Regions from separate parts of the Homo sapiens genome. Here region 2 is linked to region 1. Evidence: promoter capture Hi-C in 16 types of primary human blood cells and fetal thymus (Javierre and others, 2016). All regions are on one chromosome and are shown on one strand. Each heading gives the region's core, a stretch centred on a gene start or on the middle of the fragment in contact. The rest is flanking DNA. Distances are from core to core; before and after follow the strand shown. Region 1 overlaps MAB21L3 (mab-21 like 3). Region 2 holds the start of IGSF3 (immunoglobulin superfamily member 3).

Evidence for each region. Contacts are between HindIII fragments. The CHiCAGO score rates a contact against its expected background, and 5 or more counts as called.
Region 2: a contact is called between the fragment with the promoter of IGSF3 here and a fragment that was not itself captured in region 1, in 1 of 17 cell types (total B cells). The highest score is 5.1, in total B cells.

Annotation. Positions count from the first base shown.
Region 1 is chr1:116,125,642-116,129,625 of GRCh38, forward strand. It overlaps MAB21L3 (mab-21 like 3), which reads left to right. Exons shown (of 8, transcript NM_152367.3): 6 at 1,825-2,003; 7 at 2,504-2,698. Among named protein-coding and RNA genes, the nearest start is that of MAB21L3, 16 kb to the left of the region's middle. The HindIII fragment of the contact is 7,397 bases long and covers 1-3,984 here.
Region 2 is chr1:116,666,483-116,670,355 of GRCh38, forward strand. IGSF3 (immunoglobulin superfamily member 3) reads right to left here and starts at 1,251. Exons shown (of 11, transcript NM_001007237.3): 1 at 1,136-1,251; 2 at 1-474. RefSeq lists a silencer at 1,096-1,485. The HindIII fragment of the contact is 3,697 bases long and covers 1-2,937 here.

The sequences.
Region 1 (3,984 bases), core at 145-2,644:
AGAATAGTTCTGAAAATTTCCATAATGGTAATAGTTTATGTTTAATAGATTTTTTTACTAAGTAGAATAAGTTTCATGGGTTATTTAATTTAATCCTCATAACCACACAATACAGTAAGAATTCTTTTCCTACCTGTTTTAGAGATGAGGAAACTGAGACTTAGAGAGATTAAGTCACTTCTGAAGTTCACACACCTCATAAGCAGAGCCAGCTGCAGGGCAGGGTGTGGGCCGGCAGGGTGTGGGCCGGCAGGCTGGCTGCAGCATCGGCTCACCTCTTATGCTGTGCGACATTATTCATGGTGAAAGTGCAAAGCAGAGATTCAGAATGGGCAAGGTTTATGAGGCGCTTTTAGTAAATAATGCTAAAGTGCCAGTTGTCATGTTCCTGTCTGGGCAGCTCTGATGAGATGCAGACAAGCCCTTTATCCCACCCTGGCCAGGGAATGTTTCCCTTTTGAACAGCCTAACACAATTAATGTGCTTCCATTTTCTTCTCTGTGCAAGGAAATGCAAAATAATAGATTCCAATCTATTTCAAGAATTGGGATGAGCAAATAAGGATGAATAGATCCTGATCTATTCAAGACTGCTTATCTTTATCTGCAATGAAGGCAAACAAACAAAAACTGTACCTTTTGAAAGAAGAAGGAGCAAATTGGAAATGAGGAAATTATAGTATGTGAGCTGGAAAACTACTAGATGCGTTAGTTTTCTCTTCTTCTCTTTGCCTGGTTGGAAAACGAGGCAATGGAGACTTCTTTCAAATCACTCAATCCTCTGAAACAGTGGCTGTGACGTGCTTTGATGTATTTTGTGGTTACAGGGGTTTCTGATGATAGATACCTCTGAGGCTCGGCTGGCTGAATGGATGGTAAAAACAAATACCATCTAAGAGACTGAGGCTCAGATAAAAGAAAGGTGAAGCCAAATTTCACCAAAGGCATATGCATAAATAAGGAGGCTGATGCTGTCCCTAACCAGTGTCAGAATATCTAGGTGAAGAGGGAAAAAAAATGGCATTAGCCTTCCCTATGTTTGCATTACTCTGAAAACCAACATTTAGATATTTGGGTGGAATGGAGAAGGATATAGAAAAATAGTTAGGTTTCATTTTTACAGTAGCAAATACAGAAGTTCCCCAACTTGCCATGGCTCAACATATGATTTTTTTACTTTACAAGGGTGCGAAAGTGATACATGTTTAGTAGAACCCATACTTCGAGTACCCATACAACCATTCAATGAATTCCATGAGATATTCAACACTTTATTATAAAATAGGCTTTGTGTTAGATGATTTTGCCCAACTGTAAGTTAATGTAAGTGTTCTGAGCACTTTTAAGGTAGGGTAGGCTAAGCTATGATGTTTGGTAGGTTCGGTGTATTAATACATTTTCAACTTAGAATATTTTCAGCTTCATCAGGATGTGACCTCATCGTAAGTCAAGGAGCATCTATACTACACTTTTTCTTTTTATTCTATGGCTTTTACTTTCAGTTGATCCTCCTGAAAAGAATCTATTAATTTAAAAGAAAAGGTACCCCAAATGCCTTGGGGTTGGGGGAGAAAGAAAAACTCACCAGCAATGAGACTTCTTAGTAATGTTCCGATGCTGGCTAGCTGACTAACCATCTGGTTTTGATGTCAAAACCTTGACGTGCTACAGGCATTGTGATCCTTCACGTGCTACAGACATTGTGAAAGTTGCCACACCAGTTGCAAGGTGCTGGTCAGAGCAACTGCTCACAAATTTCTTGTTTGAACGCTTGTAATGTGCAAACCTTTCTCTTCTCCTTATCCATTTGGTCATTTCCCACCAGGTAAGGTCAGCCTGCTAGGAAACCGCTCTGCAGTTTGGGTTGCTGTGGAAACATCTGCATATCAGGTGGAACTGGAGCTGGTCCCCGCAGTGGAGATCCCCACCACCTGGTCCAAGAAAGCCCGGTGGCCTCGATGTCTGCAGCGCTGGCCTTCCCAAGAGAGAGTGGAGTGCATCAAGGTATCAGTGGGCGGGACCCAGCTTGCCAGAGCAGTGATGCCAACAGCTTAACCAGTCACAGCATTACTGACTGCCAATGAGTTTCCGAAGGAAAGTTGAGGTGTTACTAGATCAGCAGTTCTCAAAGTGTGGGCCCTGCAGCAGCGTCACCTGAGAACTTGTTAGAAATGCAGCTTCCCGAGCCCCCACTCTGGACCTGCTGAATGAGACCCTGTGAACAGGGCCCAGCAATCTGTGTTTTAAGAAGCCCTCTGGGTGATGTGATTCTGATGTATGCTCAAGTTGGAGAACTGCTGTAGGAGAGGAAGTGGGCACCATCTTCTAACTGTCCACATCCAAGGTGGCTTGTGGTCTCCCTGGCACCCCCTTCTCATCCCCACGTAGGATGTGCTGTCTGCCTGGTGACAAGTTCCCCAGACCAGCAGACTGCTTCAGAAATGGCTTTCTACACCAGTGAGCATTGTTCTTCTTATTTCCCAATATTTTTCTCTTTCTTCCAGTCGTTTGGATTTAACTTGTTGGCCTGTTCAAATTATCACTGGCAGCTGAGCTTCCTCCGTGCTGAGCAGGTGTTACTGGAACAGCTGGATGAAGATGGGGGCTGCCGTAGGAAGTGTTTTCAGGTCATGAGGCACCTGAAGGAGGACATCTGGTGCCCAGGGAACAGGCCGGTTATCACGTCCCACCATCTGCAGGTGAGTGTGGGGCAGGTTGGAGAAGACCCAGGGGCAGCTTTGGATAGGTCATTCTTCCTGTGGCCTCTGTAGGGCCTGGCCAGAGCCACTCAGAAGGGGTAGCATGTGTGAAAAATTCAGGATGAGGTTCTAGTATCTATATTTGCCATCCAACAAATTACTACGTATTATGGAAATATGTAAACTAGCACCATATGGGAGTCCACAACACCCCTGCCCAGGGTAAAATTTCCTCCCTCCCTTCCCTTTTCCAATTCTCTTCTATCCCACTTTTCCTCCCCTCTCACTTTTATTTTACCCACCAAACCAACCTGAGTGCTCACTAGGTGCCAGAAACCCTGCTGAGGTTCAGAAATGAATCACAAAATGTGGTTTGTGCCTCACACTTTGATGGCTTTATGTTTGCGCCAGTCTTTAAACCCACTGCAGCCTACGCACACCTCCTCATGCACACAGACCCACTAACACAGAGGGGACCAGGAAATGCAACACAGAGGTTACCACACACGTAGTGCCACACACTTCTTTCCAGGGTCCAAATCACCAGGCAAGGATCTTCCCTTGCTCTGCCAGCCCCTGCCTCTCCTTGCCCTAAACCCAACAGTACACATTCATTCATGCCTTCACTCACTCATTCAGCAAGTGTTTATTGAGATTACTCTGGGCCAGAGGCCTGCCCCAGTACCTGCTGTGGGCTCAACCTCTGCAGGCACAAAGGTGAACAGACACAGATGTGTTTCCTCACTCATGGCACTTCTGGTCTAGCATGGGAGATAGACATGGGTCAGGCAAGCCAGTGGGTGCGTGTACAATCACACAGTGAGGAAGCACTGGAAAGGGAGGAGTATGGCTCTGTGAAGGCTCAGAGCAGCAGAGCCTGACCTGGACTGGGCAGTCAGGGGGCCTCCCTGGAGAGGGGGCCTTTGACCACCCTCCCGACTCCCTCTTTCTCAAATTGTGAACCACACAGAGTGAAGTGTACTCTCATGTAGCAGCTCTGTGCAGCCTGCTGGAGTAGGGAGGTAGGAGACTCTTGCAGGACACCCCAGCCCAGCCTAGCTAGTGTGGGCTGTGAAGCCTAGCTTCAGCCCTCCTCCCTGGCCCCAGAAAGGATGGACTCCCTTTCTACTCAGGTAAGCACAAGTCCCTGGGGCAGTCACCTATCTGTGAGGTGCCTTCCTCACATACCTCTTCCTTCTCTCATTCGATGGACAAAACTGTCTTCCAGCCCCATGTTACTCTGTCTGCTCTAAAGTAACTTATTGAAGGACAGATACCACATTGAT
Region 2 (3,873 bases), core at 1-2,500, 540 kb after region 1:
GAGGGAGTTGGGGGGAAGGGGAGGAGTGGAGGCAAGTGTGAAAACTCCCCTATGCTACAGGAAGGGTCCACAACAATTCGGAAGTCGCTCCCGGCTCCTGCCACATCGTGTGCCTTGCAGTTTCCACTGAAATTGCAGACTGTAGTGGATTAATCCTCCAGAAGCACGGAAAAAAGGGTCTGAGAAAATCCTTTCATCCACTGATTATACAGAAATGTCCTTGGCTTCTCAGTGAAGGTGTCTGTGATCTCCCTCATTCGGATTCCCCAGAGAGAACAGGGCAGGTTTCGTCAAAACCTTTGACGGCCAAATCACCCTGCCTGGCATCAACCGTTTGGGTTTCTTCACCAAAAAGTCCGTTTCCATCCATGGTGGTAGGTCACGGAGGCGCCACCTGCCCCACGCCTGCCTAGGGCACACGAAGCAAGTTGGCGTTCGGCAGCCCTGAAGCGGTACCCCAGCGCGAGCAGATTTCTAAAACAAACACAACAGAGATTTTTATCAAAGGCAAAGCTGCAAAACCCACTGGGGCTGAGCGCTGAGCTGGTCCGGACACCTGGGTCCGGTTCCTGGACCAGGACAGTCAACCTCTGCATTCTGACCTTGGGCAAGTCTCTGTCTTTCCCTCCGCCTCAGTTTCCCTGCCCAGAGCAGGGCAACAGTGGGAAGCCCGATTGTTCCTGAAATACTTCCACCAAATGCTTCACTCCTGGGAATTCCCGTCACCTCCTACCGAGCCCGGGCGCCGCAGGTAGCCCCACCCTCCGCCAGGGCAAATCGGGAAGGGGCTCCGCGGTGGGGCCGCGACTCCCGGCCCCCGCCCCAACCGTGGGAGCTCTGCGCGCGACGCGTCCCAGGTGGCCCCGCTATTGTTTTACCTTGCAGGGTGTTTATATCTCGCTGATTGGAAAGAAAAGAAACCGGGGAAGAAGGGAGTCCGGAGCTCCGCTTTCAGCTGCCGGAGCGCGCTCGCAGCGCGCCCGCCCAGCCAGGGGAGGGGTCTCGGGCCCGACCCGGAGCTCAGCCGGCGCGGGCCCGCTCCCCACTCCCCGCTCCCCGCTCCCCGCTCCACGCCTCCCCGCCTCCCTCCCCGGGGCCCCCTCCGGGCGCCGCCCGCGCCCCCGCCGAGCCTGACCTCGCCCCTGGCCCTCTCCCTCCGCGCGCGTCGGACCGTCCTTCAGTCCATCCAGGCGCACGCCTCAGGGGACGCGCCGCTTCCTCTTCTCCCGCAACGGCACCAGCAGCCGCGCTGCGGCCCCTCCCGAGTCCCCGCCCCTCCAGCTCCAGCCCGGCCCGCCGCACTCGGCGAGGCGAGCGCGGGGCCAGGGCGGCGGCCTCGAAGAGAGGCCCGGCCCCGCCCCCGGCCCCGCCCCTGGAGACGCGAGTCCCGGCCCCGGGCCTGGCGGGGGCATGAGGGTGGCCCGGGGCACCGGAGGACCTGGGCAGGGCTGGCGTGTGGGCCGAGCAGCCCGGCAAGTTAATCAGGGCTTCACACCCAGACTCCGGGGCCGCCGGCGAGATGTACAGGCCCTTCCCAAAGCCCAGCTGGCCACCCATAACCTGGGAAGCCGGCGGCACAGAAGCTCGTCCTTCCTCCTGGAAACAAAAACAAAGCCCTTTGGAGACTTGAATCTGTTCACGAAGTGGAACCCCATATTGCACTTCACTCTTGGATAGAATTTGGACTCTGGAAACAGCCTGGGTTCTAACGCCGGTTCCTCCACTTCCTCGCTGTGGCCCTTGGCAAGTTACTTAACCTCTCTGTGCCTCAATTTCCCCATCTGCTATGTGGAGGAAATAACCCTTACTTAAGAGGGTTATGGGAGAAATCTGTGACATACTTGTAAAGCATTTAGAATGGTGCCTGATACATCACAAGTGGTCAGTAAATATAAGCTATTATTATTTTATGACCAACCGCCCTGTAAAGCAAGTGCTTTTTCGTTTTCTCACTACTTACCCAACACACACAACTTGCTGGGTAGACACCGTCACGAGGCGACCAAAGCAGAATAGACCGCCCTGCCCTCATGCAACTTGCAGTCTAGTGGGGACACAGACCATAAAATAGACATGACAAGAAAAGTACAGTGTTGAGGAAGCAAATGCAGAGACCCCAACCCTGTGTTATTGGGGGAGGGGCAAGGAGGAGGGAGCTTTGGTCGGGGTAGGTCCCAGGCTTCTCAGAGGAAAGGAAAACTCGGTTGAATGCCAAAGAACAGAAGGCAGCAGCAGAGGAAGAGACAGAGGGGAGGTAAGGAATCGCAGACTGAAGAAACAGCACCTCTGCAGGCCCAGAAAGGAGCCCAGTTAGAGGACCAGGACAGTCTGCTGGGCCCAAACTTGACTGTAGGAGAGAAGTGACAAGAAATGAGCTGAGAAGAAATCGAGTGCCAGAACCTAGAGGGCATTGTATGGTGTGTTAAGGGGTTGGGACCATTGGGAAGCCACTGAAGGTGTTGAGTAAGGGACTATGGTTATCAGATATACGTTTTATTTTTCATTTTATTTTAAGAGACAGGTTCTCACTCTGTGACCCAGGCTGGAATGCAGTGGTGTAATCTTGTCTCACTGCAACCTCCACCTCCCGGGTTCAAGTGATTCTCCTGCCTCAGCCTCCTGAGTCACTGGGACTACAGGCGTGCACCACCACACCCGGATAATTTTTGTACTTTTAGTAGAGACAGTGTTTCACCATGTTGGGCAGCCTGGTGTTGAACTCCTGACCTGGTGATCTGCCCGCCTCAGCCTCCCAAAGTGCAGAGATTACAGGCATGAGCTACTGTGCCCAACCAGGAATCTTTCCTTGTGTGTTAATTATTACCTCTTTCCCAGAGACACCCGTGACTCTGGCAGCTCTCAGTTCCCATTTGCTAGACTCCTTCATTTATTTATTGAGCACCTACTACGTGTTAAGAAAAGTCTCTGCTCTCATGAAGCTTACATTCTGGTGGGAAACACAGACAATGAAACAAGTATATAATATAATGTAACGTGTTCTGAAGAAAAGTGGAGTATAGAAATGTGTGGGCGGGCACAGTGGCTCATGCCTATAATCCCAGCACCTTGGGAGGCCAAGGCAGGGGGATCACTTGATGTCAGGAGTTCGAGACCAGCCTGGCCAACATGGCGAAACCCTGTCTCTACAAAAAATACAAAAATTAGCCAGCCGTGGTGGTGCACACTTGTGGTCCCAGCTACTTGGGAGGCTGAGGCATGAGAATCGCTTGAACCTGGGAGGCAGAGGTTGCAACGAGCTGAGATCACACCACTGCAGTCCAGCCTGGGCAACAGAGCGAGAGTATCTCCAAAACAAACAAACAAACAAATAAAAAACAGAAAGGAAAAGAAATAGTGTGTATGTTTGGGGGTTCCAGTGGGAAGAAGGACTCTTTGCTAGGTGAGGTGGTCAGAAAAGACCCCTCAGAGGAAGTGACATTTGAGCGAGACCTGATTACAGGGAGTGTGTGAGCGCTGGAGATTTCTGGAGTAAGAAGATTCCAAGTGCAGGGAACAGCAAGTGCAAAGCCCCATAACATGTTCAGAAAATTAAAGGTGTGTTAGTGTGTCTGAAATGGCATAAAACAGAAGGAGAAGGAGGAATGTGATCAGAGAGGTCAAAGAGGCCAAATCTAGTAGGACCTTCTAACCTGAGGAGCTTGGCTCACTCTGGCTGCTGGGTAAGAATAGAGCATCAGATGGTAGGGGTGGACAAGGGACACTGGATGGGAGGTTCTTTCCATTGCGCAGGTGAGAGATGATCACAGCTTAAACTAGGGTGGTGCTGATGCAGGTTGTGGAAATGGGTGGAGTCTGAAAGCATTTAGAAAGCAGAGTCAATGAAATTCTCTGAAGAACTGAATATGGAGGGGG